2 separate regions of the Homo sapiens genome follow, and region 2 is linked to region 1. Evidence: promoter capture Hi-C in 16 types of primary human blood cells and fetal thymus (Javierre and others, 2016). All regions are on one chromosome and are shown on one strand. The core of a region is centred on a gene start or on the middle of the fragment in contact, and the rest is flanking DNA. Distances in the headings are between cores, read along the strand shown.

Region 1 (6,661 bases), core at 2,881-5,380:
TAATAAGTGGCACTTGGTGTAATTGATGGGGGCACCATAAGTCTTTCTATAACTTTGTAAGACATGCAGTTGTCTTTTCCTTCTATTTCTGTACTTCCCCTCTTGATCTACTGCCTCTTTTCTCCTTTCTATCCCATTTTCCTTCCTTTCCTGCCCATTCCAGCGTGGCAGTGTTATTCAAACTGTAAGAGGCAATCTACAGTCACTCCTGAGTTCAGTTTAGTGGGCCACAGCCAAGCATTTAAAAAATCGACTACAATAGAATAATATTTCATTATATATTGTTATATTACTTATTACATTTATATAATTACACGTATGTATATATAGTATACATATGCACATTACACACACACACAAAAGCCAGTGACGCTGCTAATCCTTCTACATTGCATAGGGCAGCCCCCACAACAAATAATCATTTGACCAAATATATCAACAGTGTTGAGTTTGAGCCCTGATGTATACATATATGTAACTATTTGAAAACATCTGTAAAATGAAAGATGGAATTTTTTTGAAGTTATTTTAAATGTTTGACATTACATGGCTCCAACTAGAATCATAAATATTTTTTCTAATGCTAATTCTGTTATCCAACTTAAATTAAGATGTTGGTTTCTGACTAAAATCAACCATTTCACCAAGAATGGGAGTAAGGGTAAGTTACTTAAATTTTCTGAGTCTCACTTTCCTCTTTTGTAAAGTCTGGCTAATCATACTGGCCTGTTGAGGATTGTCATGAGAAACATAGAAAACAGATATAAAATATTTTGTATAACTTATTTATTTTAAGAAGTGAGTTAAAAATTTTTTTAGTTTAAGATTTATTTGCACATACATGTACCACCGTTCAATTTTCAAGAGTTCTGTATACATCCCATCCTTACTGACTCCACATAGCAGGTGCCAGTTTTACACATGGGGAACTGAAATTGGTGTAATGCTGTTTTTGTCCCATTGTGAGAAAGTAGCACGGGTGGAATTTGAACCCAGGTCATTGGGCTCCAAGGGCTTGGATATGTATTTGATTAAAAGAAAAACTGCCCTGGGTCTTGGCCCAGCACTATTTCAATCAGGCCAAAATGCCTGCCAAATAATCCAAATAATTGAATTGAATTGAAAAATATCCACCTTTTCAATAACATCAGGAACAAAAGTCTACAATATCCTGTAAACTATAATTACTAATATTAAGGGCATGTCCGCTTTGTTGCGTTTCTTTATTTAGGAATTTGTTCTGTGGCACTCTTCTTTGAAACCTTTGGTTGGAAAGAAACTATGTTCACTGAAAATGCAGCACATTTTGTCTTCTTTTATATGTTTTAAAGCTTTCTAGTTCTGGATAGGTGTGAAGAAGTTGAAAAAGCAACATTCTCAGGTAAATTACGTACTACACAGTAATAGGACATCCTTTACATCATCCTGGAAACATATGCGCTTTTTATCTCACTCATCGCAGGTGAAATTTCTGGTTTTCTTCTAACCTTAGAATGAAATTATAAAAACCCAGGCAAGATTTAGTTTTATTTCTCTGTTTTTCCACTAGTTTTCCAATCGGGATCTCTATGTTGTTTAGTAACACGAACTTCACAATAGAAAGTAGCTTACAGTAAACCAAACCCCCACCACATGCAATTTACCTATATAACAAACTTGCACACGTACACCTGAACCTAAAATAAAAGTTTTTCAAAAAGAAAACAGCACATGGATATAAAGATACATTTACAGTGCTAGTATAAAGAAGAATAATGTGATTTTTATTAATGAACAGAAGTACATTAATATGGTGTCTCTAGTATTCAATTCTATTTGGAAATTTTCCTCTAACACAGAAGCTTTTAGAAAATTCAGCATAAAGCAGCTTTCAAATAAATTGGCATATTTAAATTTTTCACAGACTTCAAACTCTCCTCCATTATAACTGTCTATGCAAAACCCTCTCAGAAAGTTTTATATTGCTCATCAATTTTCGTGTCTGTGCATTCAAAGCACAGCTATCCACCTACTTGAAAATTTTATGCTGACAAAAAGAAAAGTCTGCTCTTTTTAATTTTGTCTTACTATCAGTGTGGTCCCATGTGGAAAGGCAGGCTGCTAAATGCTTTTCGAAGGCTGGTGAACAGGTTAGACTTGCTTACAAGGCTAATTAAAATTGATGCATGCCATCTATTACATGTTACTACTGGATCTAAATAAAGTATCACTTTTCATCATTAATGCCATGTTCCTTCTCTACTCTGTATAGAAGTTTTTGCTTATTTTGTATGTTCCCTTTGGCTACAGACACATCACCCTTCTTAGTAAACTGTCTGAGTTTTTCAGCATGACTGTCTCATTATTTCTGTATTGGAATGGCCTCTTAGCTCTGTGTTTTGCAGTTGTTTATAACATCTACTAAAAGCGACATGAAAAGATGACACAGTCAGAAATACGGTAAAGACAGAAGTAACAGTATTAACTGACCTCATTTAGTTAATAATATGATGTGCTCAGTGCACTGCTTTTAGTCTGTAGCAAACAGCACATTGGATGTTTACACTAATACAGATATTGTAAAAAGAAGAGCAATGCTTCTGGATATATAACCGTACATACACTGCCCACGTGCTTATGTGAGAACTATGTTATTCCGAAGTTGCTTATCTGAATGGTAGGAAGATTTCAAAAAGGCTTTCTCAAGAATGAAATAAAAGGAACAGTAATGACCCTTACAACTCCGAAGATACGATTATAATTCTTCCGACTATTATTAAAGCAAACTCTGTACATCTTCATAATATAAGATTGCCAGTAGTTTTCTTTTTAAAAAGCCCAGCATAATCTCCTTAGAAAACCATTATGAAAGAAAGCCAAGAAGAGAGGACAGGAGAAGCACAAAAGATTCCCACGGGAAGGACAAGAAAAAGGTGGTTGTCAGTGCTGTGAGAACGAGTTGAAAGGCATGGGAAATATGGAAACAGACAAATTCCAATGCAGATCCACTAGCTGGAGAGGTAATTTTGCGTCTAATTTTGCACCTCTCTCCTCGCCTCCCCGTCTGCTCTCCACCATCACGCTTTTCGACAGTAAGAAGGATTTGGGGTTTTGCAGACTCTAGCGGGCATGAAAAGGATAGGGGGTGGCAACGACTTGAATTAATGACGTTCTCCTACAGGATGGAGGGGAAAATGACTTAGTGTCATCAAATGAACTCCCTACTCCTGGCATAAATTTATCAAACTGCAACTTTATCTCGAATACTCTGGAAGAGTAGAGGAGAGGCCCTAGAGAAAGCAAGTCTTGAGGGGAAACGCAATGCTCTTGGCAAAAACCGCACCTCCCTCTTGAACTACACTGACTCTTTTCACAGAGCGCCTTCCTTTAATAGAATCACAACCACCTGGACTACTAATAAGAGGAAGAAGAAAGGAGAAAAGGGAAGGGAGGATGGCAAAAATCACGCTCTAGAAGATCCAGGCAACGTCGTCGTGAAGAATAAAGGGAATCAAAATGGGCACTGGAACGCTGCTAAGGGCTTGCTTTGTTAACACACTTGCACAACTCAAGTTCAGCTCTATCTTATGTTGAAAGTCCTTGTTTACGATCCTCGTAGGAGGTTCTTAAATATCTGCCTGCGAACTCCCAAAGACTGGGCGCTTACTAGTTAGGGGAGGCAGCTGTCCCGGAGGGTGTCCAGCTCGGATGGCTGACTGCTCTTTCACTTGTCGTTAACTTCCACCCAGTAGTCTTAGTCTCCCCTTGGACATGGTACCGACCGTGTGCCATTCTTATTTCACTTGACCGAGCCCGAGCTGCAGCCCAGGGTGGAAGCCGCAAGGGCTGGGCAGAGTTCCAGGCAAGAGGGACCGAGAGGCGTGAGCAGTGCTCCGCAGCGCTTGTCAGAGAAATGGAGCAGCGGCTCCTTTGTGGGCTCTTACATCCCCGTCCTGGGTGCACAGCCCGGATATTTGATCTGTGGGGTGATTGATAAGTGAGGGAGAGGGGGGACGCGATCCCTCCCTCCCTCCTCCCTCCCTCCTCCCTCCTCACTCCCTCCTCCCTCCTCCCTCCCTCCTCCCTCCTCCCTCCCTTCTTCCCCTCTCCTCCCTCCCGCTTTACTTCCCTCCTCCCTCTCGCCTCCCTCCCTCCTTCCTGCAAGAAGCGTTGCCCGTTGGCTAGCTGCTCGGTGGGGATCTGCCTGCCCTGGGGGCGCCGCCCGCGCTCCCCGCGGTGCTCTCGCTCCTGGGCTGCGCCAGTCCGAGGCGGTGCCGGCTCCTTTGCCTCCCCGAGTCGCAGATGCTGCGGGCGCCTCCGGGAAAAGATCTGGGCGGCGCGCTCGCTCGGTAAGTTCTGAGCACTCAGGGACGCGGTGGCGACGCGGCCAGTGAGCCGGCTTTCCTCAGTCCGTTGCCTTTCCCGGCCACCTCTCCTTGCGAGGGGCACCAGCGTGGGGAGGCTGGGCGCCATCCGCGGAGGGCAGCTCGCTGGCGGCCGCCCTCTACCCTCAATCCCCACTGGAGATTCCTCACCCCGGGACCGTCCGCGCGGGCGTGGTCGGGCTCCGCGCCTCGCGCAGCGGGGTGGCACAGGCGGCCAGGGAGGGCCCACGCACCCGGCGCGAGCTAGAAGCCTCCGGTCGGCCTGCAGTGCCCAAGTCCCATGGCGAGGGCAGCCCGAGTGGCCGTCGCGGCTGTAGGTCCGCATGCCGGGCACCGCACCAGGCGTCTAGCAGGTAGGGGCAGGGAAGGTAGGGCTGCGCTGGCGGCCGGTGCCCAGTTACCGGCGATCGGGGACGCTCGGAGACACCTGGTCTCCCGGAAGCGCCCTTCGGAAATGGGATTCGACCCGGCTTGCGGGCGGCGGGTGTTTAGAAGAAGAGGCTGCGGGCAAGCAGTGCCCCCTCTCTGGTTCCCCGGACTCCTCTTAGCCCCCTCGTGGCCTGATGGGCGGCCGGGACGGAGGTGGGCTGTAAGCCCGCCGGCACCCACCGTGTCCTGTGGAAGGCTTGGAGACCTGAGCCAGGCTCTACTCGGTTAGATGCGAGTGAGACAGGCGACGGAGTTCGTCTTTAAGCCTCCCTTGCCTCAGCAAGGAGAGGGAGCGTTTTCCTTATTTTAATGACCGCCTTTCCCTCCCTTGGGGTCCCAGTTCACCCTGAACCTTTCCACAGCCTTAAAAGCCCGCTCTCCCTAGCGGAGTGCTGCGGCAGTTCTTCAGAAGACACGGGGCCAAATGAAACTTACTTAAAGTGGTTATCGCGTTTCAGGCTGATTTGTTCCTAGTAACTACGTTTTGGAAAGCAGCTGTGGACTCTCAAGGACAGGCAGGAACGAAGACCTCCTTAGGGTCCGAGTGTCGCTTCCCACAGTTAGATTACCCATGAATTTCCTTGATTCTGTAGGTCTCAAGAATCTCATGAGCCCCCAACCACCTCCACCTTTCTCTCTGAATCTCTCTCCTGTCTCTGAAATTCTTCGCAAAAATAATCTGTCCTCAAGGAATATTGAAAGCGTCATCAATGTCTTGAAGGAAATTACTGTATCTGAGAACCGAAACTAGTATTTGATGTTTCACTTTCAAATACATTTTTTTTTAATAAAAAGGATACCTTTAAGTAAAACACTACCACTGCTATTTACGTTTAAGTAGATTTTTAATTCATATTAAGCAGTAGTGTGCTTTTTGGAAAGATGATGGACTGGGACTCATAATCCCTGGGTTTTGTTTCTATTTGTAGTTTCTTGAGTAAGTCAGCACTTTCCCTGGTTAAGAAATGACCTCATCTGTAAAATGAACCTGACTTCTAAGGTCTTGTTCGGCTCTCACGTCTTTACTTCAGTTAAATATTGACATAATACATGTTTGTTGAATGAATGACTGAATGAATAAATCTTATTGCTCTAGGAACTATGTGCTTTTAACCTTTGGAAATACATAGAAACAAATGCCTCCTTTGCTAGGAAAGGGAGCTTAATTGTGCTCCCACTGCATCAGACTGCTTCCATCTAATGATGCAATTGCAATACAGGGTGGGAGGCCATCCACAGGGCTGTCCCTCTGCCTCAGAGCTCATCTCAAGTTTGCCCTTCTCTATGGAGAAGGAAAATTTGAGTCTCCAGAAGGAAAGTATTTTGCTAAACGCCAAGCAAGAATTAGAGGGTAAGGGGGCTTCTGATGCCTGGTCCAAGGCTCTTAGAAGAAGAAGAAGGAGAAAGGGAGAAAGCTCAAGAAAATAATGCACAGATCACCAGCTACAGGTGGCCCTAGTGCCTAAGTTTATAAACTACCCCCGCCCTTCCCGGAGAGAAAGGAGCTTGTATAAAGGGAACAATCCTAGAACCTAGGCTTAACAAGGAAGGAGAAGGGGAGAAGCAAGGGTCATTCTGTTCTCAAGTGGTTTGTTGTATCTGTGTGTTTATCTATTCCACATTTGGCCAGGCAGTGGGACTCCGGGAAAGCAAGCTGAAGTGTTTTGTGGGACAGGCACATCATTTGGTCAACTCCTTTTCCCTGGTTGATTCCCTCCTTTTCCTGACCCATCTCCCCCTTCCTACCAGAGGCAACCAAGGCCTTTCCAGGCAACAGCAGACATTATTTACCCCTTGCGAATTGATTCCACAATGGAAGACTCTTGGGTCCAAGGAGCTGTAAGATAATTAAGGAGAAAACAGATAAT
Region 2 (6,661 bases), core at 3,018-5,517, 2.0 Mb after region 1:
AGTGCTCTGCCCTTCAGTCTCTCCATCTCTTGAGGCTTTGGAATGTGGGACACTATATGTGCTGTTTGCTTTCAAGGGCCAGAAGTCAAAGCACACTAACATAGAGACACACATCATTTGCGAAGTTCGTAAGCCAGGACTTGGTAAGGTGTTCACATTAAAACACAAATTCAATATTGCTGATGAACTCAAATTATCTGCCCTGATGATTTAGCCCATACATCATGGAAATAAGGCAGGAAGTGCCATACTCAGCACTTTGTTTTCCAATGCCAATATTGAGCCTGTGGAAGGTAATAGGCAAAGAAGAGACATTTTGCTTTCCAGTGAAATGTAATGACTATAAAATCTGACTGTGTTGTGAATTCTTTTTTTCCCTCTTGCTTATACTTCTAATGTGCTTTATTTTATATATTTGTATAATATATTGTCACTTATTCTAGGACCACCAGAAATATACAGAAAGCATGCAAAGATGATTATGAATTATAAAAGACAATGTGTTATTCTTTATATACTTTCATGTATTATTTCACCTGATGAATTTTCATAAATATTACCTGTGGAGGACAGAAGACTTACTTCCATAGGATTGCCAGAAGCTAAACAAATTTAATGTGAAATTCACCTGGTACTCATTAAATAAAAGATCCATTAAAGATATACCAATTCAAAAAGATTTCCAGCTCAGTATAATCTATTTATTTGTAGAGCAAACAACCATAACATCTATATTTGCTACATGCTAAAAGTCTCCAAGAGGTCAAATTTATAAAGAGTACTCTCAACAATCAGACATTACTGGAGTCTCTGAATGTTTACCTCTTTACTTAATTAGGAAGAACTGCCATAGCTCTTAATATCTAATTCTCAATGGGAAGTTAAATATTAATACTAATTATCAATTTAATTCTAATAGTCACTAGTGACTTGTGCCCCCCAAGAAAGATATATCCCTTGAGAAAATCTTATAGTACACAAAATGCATTTTTATTGTCAAGCATTTCAATAACTGTTTTTAGGTCTGTATAACAAATACTGCAGTGGACCCAACTCTCTTAAGTTAAACTAATCTTGATGGCACAAGAAAAATATGGTGTATGTTAAATTGATTCAAATTATATAAAACTCAAGAGAACATCAGTAAGACTCTCTTCCTCAGGATTAAAAAAAACGTTGAAAGAACTTTGATATGGGCCCTAAAGCCAAAACCATTGTGTACAAACTTTGGAAAAGAATGCAGGATTGTCAGGTGGCAAAATAGCACTGCTACCTAGAGGTTTCTCTGATCTAATTTTTTTCCACTGATACTCCAAAAAATCTTTTAGGGAGGATAAATTGAATGGCCTGACCTAGAAATTAGGGCAGGAGATCCATAATACCTTTATTAAGTATACACACATTAAAAGAAACTCTTTCATAGGTTATTTGGCAAATAGCATCCCCAAAGCCTGCTGCTTTTGAAAGTGAGGATGTACTAAAATGTCACTTTTTAAAAATGTCACTATTGCCCACAATCCCTGGAATTTGCACACACATTTTTCTGTAGAAAGTTTACATTATGCCTAATGTGTCTAAATGCAAAGGGTTATTATGAGATTAGAGAGAAAATTGTTCATGATTGTTCACCAGCCCAATTTGAGTTTTGACCAAGTTTCTGAATTTGTCCAACTTCACGTTTTTAAGAAATGTAAAAGAATGTAACTCACACTGAAGAGATGCTGTATTAGACGGTTTTCACATGGCTACAAAGAAATATCCAAGACTGGGTAATTTATAAAAGAATAGGTTTAACTGACTCACAGTTCCACATGGCTGGGGAGGCCTCAGGAAACTTGCAATCATGTCATCATGGTGGAAGGGGAAGCAGGCATGTCTTACATGGCAGCAGACAAGAGGGAGAGCATGCAAGAGCAGGGAACTGTGCCTTATAAAACCATCAGATCTTGTGAGAAATCACTATCACGAGAACAACATGAAGGAAACTGCCCCCATGATCCAATCACTTCCCTCCCTCAACACATGAGGATTACAATTCGAGATGAGATTTGGGTGGGGACAAAGAGCCAAACCATATCAGATCCTCTCACAAAATGTTGAGGTGGATATGAATTAAGATTCAAGTTCGTTATAGCACTCTCCATATTTTTATAATCTATTTTTATTGCCTGGGCCTTTTATGTGAACCGTCCTGGATACAAGGTTATTACAAATCATGTTTTCAGTTGCCATAGTGCTTTCTATTTTAAAACAAGTAAATGTAGCTATCTCTTTAACAAAAACATTTTTCTCTAAGGAATTGGTAGATCCGTAATGTATTGTGCACGCCAGAGAGGTCTGCTTGATAGGAGAATTCTGGATGGACCAGAAAGAAGGGAAGTTCAAAATATTATTGTCTTCCTTCTATTCTGTTAGTTGCCATTGTCATATCACTTTCTTAGAACTATGATTAATATTTCTGTAATTTTTTGGTGAGATGTAAGTACTGTGAAAGATATTTGTTTTTAATTTTTAAATAAAATAAATGAGCACCCACAGGGAGAGGTCAGCAACAGAGATTTGTGTGCTAGTCCTTGACCTAGATTCTTCTTCTTAGTCATCTTGCCTGTACAAGGCATGATCAACTTCTGGTCAGCATCTCGCCATCTAGCTTGGTGACAGGGTTTGCACAGCTCTTTGGCTTTGAACACACCACTCAGATCTCCTAATTGGCAAGGGAGAAGGTATAGAGGTGGCCGAAACCCAAAGAGGCTACGCTTTCATTGTCTGCTCAGTCTGCTACCAACATTCTGACCAGTGCCTCCCAGACTCCAAAACCAACCCCATGCTTCCGTGGGAGAGAAATTGTGAGTGCTCATCTTCTGACTATGCCTGAATTGATAACTAACATATCTAACTCATATCTAACTACTCCTTCACCTTTTTTTCTTTCTTTCTGGCACCAAGAATGGGGAAGATTCATTTCCCACTTTCAGACATAGGACAGTCAGGGAAGGTTTCAATTAGTCCGTGGTCTAGTTATTGCTTATCAGTGATCACCAAGGAAGCTTCCCTCTGCAGCTGAGTGCTGGAAACTCCTTGGACCACACAAGACTGTTAATGGTGTCCTGGAAACTCTCACTTCACTTCAACTTCCTTAACTAGCTGACATCTGTCATCCCAGGCACAATAACGTTTCCTCAAAAATAATGTAAATGGACAAGAAATTCAAGAGAAATTAATTTTTTAACCATATCCAAAACCTCTATTTAACAAATAGCAATTCAGAGGATGAAAGATGAATGGCACGACTTGGCAGAATTAGACCAGTGCTGGAGTTAAGTTTACTCAGGGTTCCCTTTGAAGGCTTTGACCATATTGCAGGCTTGGCTTCTAGGGGAAGCACTTGCTACCACACTTTTGGCTCCTTTGGAATTAGTGAAGGTACAGGAACTGTATGAGATAAAAGAGAGGCAGACAGCTAATCATCAGAGGCAGTATGGCAAGGTGATGGGGATACTATAAGAGAAAGAAATCATTAGTGGGAAATTTTTCCATAGTTAACCAAGGAGTTTGTGGTATGAATCCTCTCTTCCGTGTTTGCTATGAAATCTTCAGTAATATCCTTACCACACACTACCATATTTGTGGAAGTGGATATTTTAGGGGAACAAGATGAGGAGTTGAATCCTACATCCAGGATTGTTTAGGGCAAAACAAGACATGCAGAAGCCAAGGAACAAAATGAAAGTTCATATTTTGCTTATACAGGCAAAATAAATAGAAGGAATACAGATTAGAAGGAAAGAAATCTCTATCTCATGCCATGATTTTGGTGAAAGGGCTCTTTGCAGATATATACGAATCCCTGGACCAGGTTGATGCAGGCATCTAAAGTGTTCCCCAGAACCTGAAAGTGAGGATGTACATTAAAGCAAATCCATTTCTCCTTTGGCAGAGAGCCCAAACCCAATCAGGTTGAGAAGGACTGAGTCCATTATTGTACACCCTCAAAACTCTAGGATTACCTTTCTGTGTGATCCTCTGGGTCACATATGCTAGCTCATCTTACTCTGTTCCTTTGATTTCCCTGATAGGTAATTTTGTAGACCCCAAGGGCTAGATTGTGACAGTCTTTCTTTTAAAGACAAACACTTGGGTACTTCTGGATGTTCAGCAAATGTTCTTGAAAACACTCTGTGTTTTCAAAACTATCTTGGAACAAAATATGAGTGGAAATGTGTCATCCCAGTCCTCTCTCCAGCACCCTGCCCCTGAGATGTATTGGTCTTGATCCAACTGCCCCTGCTATGTGCCCATTCTTTCAAGGACTGCAAGGGAAAACATGTCTTGGCTTCAGCTGAAGAGCTGTCTCTTCCCAACCCTTAACTCTGGACCTGAAATGCAGGTCTCATCAAACTTACACCTTTTTCATAACATCTGTGGTTGGCAGAATAATGCCCTCCCTGCAAAAGATGTCCAATTTCTAATTCACAAAATTTGTGACTATGTTGTGATATGTGACAAAAGGGACTTAGCAGATGTGATTGAGTTAAGGAAATTAAAATCGGGGATTATCCTGGATTATTTGAGCGAGCCCAATAACAACAGTCTTTATATGGGAAGGAGGGAGGCAGGAGGGTCAGAGTCAGAGAAGGAGACGTGAAGTTGAGTGATGTGAGGAAGGAACCATGAACCGAAGAATGCAGGCATCCTCTGGAAGCTGGAAAATGTAAGAATACAAATTCTCTCCTAGAGTCTTTAGAAGGTACCAGCCCTGCCAACACCTTGACTTCAGCCCAGTGAGACTCAATCTGGACTACTCAGCTGCAGAACTATAAGAGAATAAATTTTCATTGTTTTTAGCCACTAAGTTTGTGGAAATTTGTTACAGCAGCCATGATAAACTAATAAAGCAGTGTGTAGCCATTTGAACTTGGGAAATGTGTACTTCCTAACAAAAGGAAACAGAAAAAGGTAAAATGCGCATTGCTTATTGAACACCTATTTTATGTCAGGCGCATACCATGCATAATCTCATGGGCTTTTTATAACGAATCAGTGGATGTATTCCATTTATCAGATAGAGAAATGGAGCTTTAAAAGTGAAGAAATATGTTCAAGATGTTATCGTTGCCATGTGTCATGCAGCCTGGGCGACAGAGCAAGACTCCATCTCAAAAAACAAAAAAAAAACAAAACACACAAACAAAAAAACCTTTATCTAGGAGTCGCCTTTTATAATCGAGTCTTATATTTATTTACATTTACAGAGCAAAGTGGATTCCCTGGACTATTTTCTATCTCAAACATATGCCACCATCTTGATAAGAGGTCCTCTTCCAGAATTCAGTAAATAAAGAGAACCTGTCTGGTAGCTGTTGTTAGTCGGTAGAAAGGAATATGCACAGGGAACCACAGGAGGACAAGCTCAATCCTATGAGGTAGACGCTAGTACAAACCAGCTTGTGATAGAGAATATAAGACACAAGAAGCAGCATTTTGCTTAAAGCTTTGGATATTTCCATAGCATCCATCAACATCTCAGGATACTTCCCAGGAAATAGAATGTAATTAATATGAAGATATAATTTTCTCAATCGCACAGTGACTGGACTATCTGAGGCAACTATGTGGCAACAGATGGGTGAGGCCTGCTTGGAATCAAGCCAAAGAAGTGAGAGTTGGAATGAGTCCCAAGTCTGTAGCCTTGCCTGAGCACAGGGGCCCTGGTCATCAAAAACTACTACTAATAATAATAATTATCATCTCATTCCTAGTGTCATCAACTGTGACAGCTGATGGCACTGACCATGAAGGCCATCAAATTTTCTCTGCTCTGAGTTTACGCTCCCCAGGTCACCTCCTGCTAGAAGCTTTGCTTCCTTTTGTATAGTTTTCTAAAGGGCAGAGAATAGTTTCAGTTTCTCAGTTTAAATTCTGTGTTTCCATCATGGTCTATACTGTTAGGGTCTCATCTTAAAAAAATAGTTTTCTATTCAGATGTGTTGAGTCTATGGGGAAAAAATCGTTTTCTGTTTTGGGCTCCACGCTTAACCCCTGATTAAGACAACCTAGTTACTATTTCTTCCTTTTTGATCTCCTGGGCCCCTGCATGCTTTATCTAGTGCCATTTGGTTGCTATCTATGGTTCATTTGCCCCCAGATAGTTTACCTTCTATCTAGCTAATATGCAGAAGTTCTAAAATCCTGGACATTTGACTGATTATTGATGCTGGGTAAAGAAGAAGGGCCCAAGTCAATCACGAAGGTGACTGGTCTTTAAAGCTCCATCCTGTAGGTCCTTATAAGCAGAGCATCAACAAGAGGAAAACAACATCCTGAACAAATATCTTCAAATTATAAAATATGAGTGCTAGTTTGGATTTAGGTGCAAAACATTAACATCCCAAGTCCCATTGTGCTCAAGGCACTGTGACATGCATAAAGTCTTTGCAGAAGCTGGGAAATCACGCAGGTATTTGTTTTCTTTTATACTTCCTCCTCTAGACCCTAAGAGCTAGAATTCTTGAAAAGACTGAGAACTCTATCAGTCTCTTGTGAATCTGGTTAACTGAGTCAGCCCCCATAGCTTGATTTCCTCGGTGTTCACTGACCCATTCCAAGCCCTGAACCGATAAGGCCAGGAACCAGACCTAAAGTTATTGGGACCTCACCAAGG

Evidence for each region. Contacts are between HindIII fragments. The CHiCAGO score rates a contact against its expected background, and 5 or more counts as called.
Region 2: a fragment that was not itself captured here is called in contact with the fragment with the promoter of SLITRK2 in region 1 in 1 of 17 cell types (M0 macrophages); the score reaches 6.3 in M0 macrophages.

Annotation. Positions count from the first base shown.
Region 1 is chrX:145,813,699-145,820,359 of GRCh38, forward strand. SLITRK2 (SLIT and NTRK like family member 2) reads left to right here and starts at 4,131. Exons shown (of 5, transcript NM_032539.5): 1 at 4,131-4,328. The HindIII fragment of the contact is 7,249 bases long and covers 1,840-6,661 here.
Region 2 is chrX:147,791,301-147,797,961 of GRCh38, forward strand. No RefSeq gene overlaps it. Among named protein-coding and RNA genes, the nearest start is that of FMR1-AS1, 120 kb to the right of the region's middle. The HindIII fragment of the contact is 2,444 bases long and covers 3,046-5,489 here.